Linked DNA regions of Homo sapiens: region 1 is linked to region 2. The links are contacts of gene promoters, found by promoter capture Hi-C in human tissues and cell types (Jung and others, 2019). All regions are on one chromosome and are shown on one strand. The core of a region is centred on a gene start or on the middle of the fragment in contact, and the rest is flanking DNA. Distances in the headings are between cores, read along the strand shown. Region 1 holds the start of TUBGCP6 (tubulin gamma complex component 6). Region 2 holds the start of SYCE3 (synaptonemal complex central element protein 3).

Evidence for each region. Contacts are between HindIII fragments. The study calls those that stand out against the background at their distance.
Region 1: a contact is called between the fragment with the promoter of TUBGCP6 here and the fragment with the promoter of SYCE3 in region 2, in 3 of the 25 tissues and cell types used here (heart left ventricle, lymphoblastoid cells and spleen).

What each region holds. Positions count from the first base shown.
Region 1 is chr22:50,243,681-50,246,434 of GRCh38, forward strand. It overlaps TUBGCP6 (tubulin gamma complex component 6), which reads right to left and starts at 1,343. Exons shown (of 25, transcript NM_020461.4): 1 at 39-1,343. The coding sequence starts at 779. HDAC10 (histone deacetylase 10) reads right to left here. Exons shown (of 20, transcript NM_032019.6): 17 at 2,618-2,696; 18 at 2,230-2,412; 19 at 1,995-2,147; 20 at 1,503-1,850. The coding sequence ends at 1,827. RefSeq lists enhancers at 1-862, 436-715, 1,126-1,175 and a silencer at 1,646-1,715. The HindIII fragment of the contact is 41,268 bases long and covers 1-2,754 here.
Region 2 is chr22:50,561,453-50,564,182 of GRCh38, forward strand. SYCE3 (synaptonemal complex central element protein 3) reads right to left here and starts at 1,467. Exons shown (of 3, transcript NM_001123225.3): 1 at 1,406-1,467. It overlaps LOC107985568 (a long non-coding RNA gene), which reads left to right and starts at 1,509. Exons shown (of 2, transcript XR_001755606.3): 1 at 1,509-2,115. RefSeq lists silencers at 1-88, 1,159-1,568. The HindIII fragment of the contact is 12,147 bases long and covers 1-2,730 here.

The sequences.
Region 1 (2,754 bases), core at 93-2,592, 320 kb before region 2:
CCCGAGAGAGATGAAAGAGGAAAAACTAAACATTCTACCTTAATAGCCAGCCCAGAGAGGTCCGCATTGTCTGGCACGGGGGGCAGGCCCAGTCGGACGTCCATGTCATAAGTGCGGCTGTGCACAAGGGCCCCGAAGAGCGAGACCCGGGTGTCTCTCTCGAACCTGTCACCACAAGGGTCACCAAATGAGAAGAGCCCGACGGTGGGCAGGCCAGTGCCTGGAGCAGCCTCCATAACCTGAAGTGTTTCCTGGATCATGCTGTGACACAAACACTCTTCTCTGGAGATCAGAGACTGAACGTCCATCTCAAACACACTCAGGTCGTCGCAATCATAGCCGCTGTACGGAACGTTTCTCCCCACATGCTTGTTGTTAAGGAAGTAGTCTCGTTTTCTCGGCAGAACTTGAGGGGGACCACTCCCTGCCAGCTGAACCAGGAGGTCCAAAACAGACCCCACCTCCAAAAGCGGACAGCAAGGGGCTGCTTCCAGCTCCTCCACAAGCTCCTCCAAACGGTCGGCCTTGGGGCCCAGGCCACCCACTCTCAAGTCAAAGGACAACATGAGGATCTTGTTTCTCGCTGGTAGTTTTGACATGTCAGGCTGCAGCTGTTGAGTCTCATCTTGAAAAAGATTTGTGAAAAGAGCATTGTAGGCCACCTTCTTGAGGCTCCGCTTTGCCCTCTTCCGGTTCACACTGCGCTGGCCCAGGTGAGTCTTGGCAGCCGGCAGGAGGGCCTCACACAGGTCGTCGAACAGCTGCGTGATGCTGGCCATGCCCCTTCTCAGCTCCGGGCCCCCGGCGTGTGGGAAAACACCTCACCCGGGCTTCACTCACGCTCCGGAAGACAGGGAGTGAGAGAGGGTCCGAAGAGGCTGAATGACAGGCGGCCTCTCCAATGCCGAAGCTCAGAACTGGTATTTTTTAAAGGAGGTCTTGCGGTTGCTCTACTCAGAGTAAACACGCCCTGCCCTCCCCAGTCCAAGCACGCTGCCCGGCGCCCGGCAGCCCACCAGAAGCCAGCTCGGCGTTTCTTCTAATTCAGTAGCCCTCAACCTTTAGGGAGTCACAGAACCGTGGCAAAACCGAAGAACGAAACGCGCGCCCGCGCAGTACAGCGGACGAACTCGGCTTTGCACCCGTTCTTCGGGACCCACGAGAGGAGACGGCCAGGAGAGGGTGCCACTCCGAGGGTCGTGGGCAGCGGAGAGTCTGGGGGCTCAGCCGGGTGGGTCCCGGGTTCTGGCCTGCACGTCCACCCGTTCTCCAGGCCTCACCCGTGGAAAGTGCCCACGGCTGCCGCTCTCGCCGCCTCCGTCGCGTCACAGCCGCGCCAGTGTGAAGAGCACTAGGGCGGGCGCGCCGGAAATACGTCACGGGAACGCCGGCAGCGCGTGAAGTTGGTGAGGCCTGGGCCGCGGCATACTTCCGGCCTGAGTCCGGCACCGCGGGTGAGAGACCGAGGCCGAGCGTGCTCAGTAAAGGAGGCAGAGCCAGCGTTTCGTTTGAGCGATGTTTACTAACGGCGCAAGGGCGGGGAGCGAAGCGCAGCGGGGCGCAGGGGCCGGAACGGGACCGAGCGTGGGTTGCATGGGCCTCGATGGGACGGGCCGGGGCGCGATGGGTGGGGCGGGGGCGAGGTGAGGTGAGGGGTGGAGCGGGGGAAGCACGGGTGGGAGAGGGCGGGGCGCGGGGATTGGGAGTGGGCGGGGTTCCGTGCCCCAGAGTCGAGGGAGCCGTGGGCTTGGGGTCCGGATCGCGGCCGCGGGGCGCTGGCGTGCGGTGTCATTTCTGCGGTGTAAATGCTCCCACCTTGGCCGATTTCAAGCCACCAGGTGAGGATGGCACTACAGGAGGAGCCGAGAAGAGGCGCGCAGTTGGCCTCCGGCGCTGGAGCTGGTTCAGGGCACTCCCCTGCCCTGCCCTCCCCACCGATCTGTGCGGCAGAGCCAGGCCCCAGGGCAGGGCCATGCCTCCGCAGTCAGCCTCACCTGCAACATCTTCCACTGAGGCTCCAGCTGCCCTCTCAGGTACATCAGGGCCTGGACGTCCTCTGGGGAGGCCACAGAGGAAGGGCCTAGGCTAGGAGGTGCCTCTCCATTCAGCACCCGGGCCAGGATCCCTGCTAGCTGGGGTGTGGAGTTCTGGACCAGGGGCGAAGACGGAAGCAGTCACTGGTCCTTTCCCTCGTCCCACCCCGCAGCACCTCCACCCTGCCCAGCTTACCTCCTCCAGGAGGGCCAGGACTCGGCCCCCTGCCAGCCCCCGAAGCATTGCAGCCAGGAGTGCAGCGTGGGGGCCCTGCAGGCCATGGCCAGGCCCCAGCGCCACCAGCACCAGGTCAGGCTGGAAGCCATAGGCCAGGGGCAGCACCAAGCCCAAGATGCAGCTCAGGAAACCACCGGTCATCTGTGGGGACAGCAGAGCCCAGCTCCTCATCTACGGACACCTGCTGGCTCTGGCCTCCCAACCTCCCAATCTCAGGGCCCCTGGAGTAGGAGCAGGGAGACAGGAAGGACCAGAGGCCTGCTATCATGACAATGCCAGCAAACAGCAGCTGTACACATCCATGGGCTCCCCAGCACCTGCCTTGCCGCGTGGCATGGTCACTCACCACTGGCAGTGGCGTGGAGACATGGAACATGGATAGGGCAGCCGCCTCCTTGCCCCTGATGTTCAGCCACAGACTCCTCCTTCCAGGACACAGGTGCATAAGTGTAAGGCCCTGCTCACCCTCCTGAGCCCAAACCG
Region 2 (2,730 bases), core at 217-2,716:
AGAGGCCTGAGCCCGCACCAAAGCACAATGGAACGGAGCTTAGGATGGGTGGCGGAAGTGTGGGGCGGGAGGAGCGTGGGGCGGGAGGAGTGTGGGGCGGGAGCGTGGGGCGGGAGTGTAGGGTCTGGCTTGGGTATCACTTTAGGTGTGAAGGACGGGGGTTGAGCGAGTCAGAGCCTAGAGTCTGGTTTGTGGTCTGAGTGTCTTGCCTGGTACGAAGAGTTTCTAACAGAGTCTGGGATCCCTCTGAGAACAAGGAATGTGAGGGGATAAGAGGGATGCTTGGTGCAGAGATGTGCTCTTTTGTACGGGATGAGAGCAGCACAGGAAGGGAATGCACCTGTGATGTGGGAGAGAAGTCTTGGAGTTGGGCTATGAAGAGTCTGGGCGGGTCCTGAAGTGCAGGTGGAGGAAGCCAGAGGTGCGTGTGGGAACTTGGGGTGTGAGGTGGTGTGTGGACTCCGGGGTCCCAGGTGTGGCAGGTGTGAGGGTAAGAGGGGCAGGCTGCACGGAATGAGAAGCCCAGGGTGTGCAGACTTCAGGATCAGGAGTGTATGGTGTGAGGACATGGAGATTAGGTTAAGGGGGTGAAGGACTGAGGTGAGGGATGTAAGGTGGGGAGAGTGGGGTATGGAGTGTGCAGTGAGGGGAGCGGGGGAGGGGTGAGGCGGGGTGAGGCGGGGTGAGGAGGGGTGAGGGGTGAGGCGGGGTGAGGGGTGAGGCGGGGTGAGGGGTGAGGCTGGGTGAGGAGGCGGGTGAACGGTGACGTGAGCGATGAGGGGTGAGGGGCGAGGCGGGTGAGGCGGGGTAAGGAGGGGTGAGGCGGGGTGAGGGGTGAAGGGTGAGGCGGGGTGAGGGGTGAAGGGTGAGGCGGGGTGAGGGGTGAGGGGTGAGGCGGGGTGAGGGGTGAAGGGTGAGGCGGGGTGAGGGGTGAAGGGTGAGGCGGGGTGAGGGGTGAGGCGGGGTGAGGGGTGAGGCGGGGTGAGGGGTGAGGGGTGAGGCGGGGTGAGGAGGGGTGAGGGGTGAGGGGCGAGGCGGGTGAGGCGGGGTGAGGAGGGGTGAGGGGTGAGGCGGGATGAGGGGTGAGGGGTGAGGCGGGATGAGGGGTGAGGGGTGAGGCGGGGTGAGGGGTGAGGCGGGGTGAGGGGTGAGGGGCGAGGCTGGGTGAGGAGGCGGGTGAGCGGTGACGTGAGCGATGAGGGGTGAAGGGTGAGGCGGGGTGAGGGGCGTCGGGGGAGGGGCATGGGGTGTGGAGTGAGTGGAGTCGGGTGAGTGGAGTTGGGTCGAAGTCAAGGGTCTGGCTTGAGGTTGGTGCCACCGCGAACGCTAGGACAGGGTCAGGCGGAGCCCAGCCGTCAGGGCGCGTTGGGAGGGCCGGGGCCCAGGGGGGCGCGGCCTCGCTCACCTCCAGCTTGGCCCGCGCTCCGGTCCTGCTCTGGCGCCCCCAGCGGCCGCTTGAGGAACAAGGCCGCTCCTCGAGAGGGATGCCCCGCCCTTTCCGTTAGCGAACCCTCCCCGGAAGTGACCTCTCGCCCTCATTGGGTGTCCTCGGGAAAAGGGGCGGGGCATTCCGCGCTGCTCCCACAGGTCTGCGGCGTCCGAGTCTGGGACTGGCAGGTGCGGTGCTGGGGACGTCCTGAGGTTGAGGGAGAATCCTGCGGAGATGAAGAGCTTCCCGGCCTGACAGTTTTGCCCCCACCTCCTTCTTGAGCTTAAGGATTTATACGCAGGGCCCCGTTTGCCTGCTGTGTCCCCAGTGTCCAGGACAGCGCCCGGTACCAAAGGTGCTGGTAAACATTTGTCGAATGAGTCGCTGAACGCCCAGCTATTTCCACTGTCACAGCGATCATGTGTGGCGGACATTATGTGGCATGTATCTTACAGAGGAGGCAGCCCGGGCTCAGGGAGACGAGGCAGAGGTGCACGCAGGTCTATGTGGGCTGGAAAGTGCTGGGGCCTCCCGGGCGCTCCTGGTCTCCAGGCAAGAACTGGAAGCAGAGCCACTCAACACCTAGAAGGGCAGTGACAGAAAGCTCTGGCTGGGAGGAGGCTGACCAGAGGCCAGTCTGAGCTCAGCCTTTTTTTTCAGAGGGACGTGGGCACCCTAGAAGGGTGGTAAGTAGGCGAGTGGCAGAGTTAAAAGGTCTCTGGCTGCCGAGGCGGGTGGCGACGGGGCCGGCCGTTGCTGTTGTTTGGCTGAGTGGTGGACAGGGTCAAAGCCATTCCAAGGTCGACTTGACAGGGCTTGGTAATGTGGGAGGGAGGGAGAAAGAAGCAAGGGGCTAATGGCCGGGGTGATACCACTGGCAGAGATGTGGAAGAGTGGGAGAAGCTAGCTTGGAAGGTTAACTTTGATTTTGAACACCTTGTGTTTGAGAATCCTGACAAACCTTAGACCCCCTGAATTTTCTCTCAGGGATTCTGATTCTTAGCAGCCTGATTGCAGAGGAGGAAAAATGGCTGGGGTTGAGCCAGACAGTTCTGGGCAAGGAGTGAGCATTCGCTTGTTTATTGAGGAGGCTGCTGCCTGGGCCACACTCCCTCCGCCAGCTGCCAGGTTCCTGCCCCGGTTGAACCCGGTTTTCTGGCCATCCCTTTCCACCTGTGAGCTGCTCTTCATACTTCCATTTGCTTATACAGCCCAGAGCCGATTTCTGTTACAGCAGCCCAGAGAAACATGAATAGGGAATAATTCTTTTTTTTTTTTTTTGAGACGGAGTCTTGCTCTGT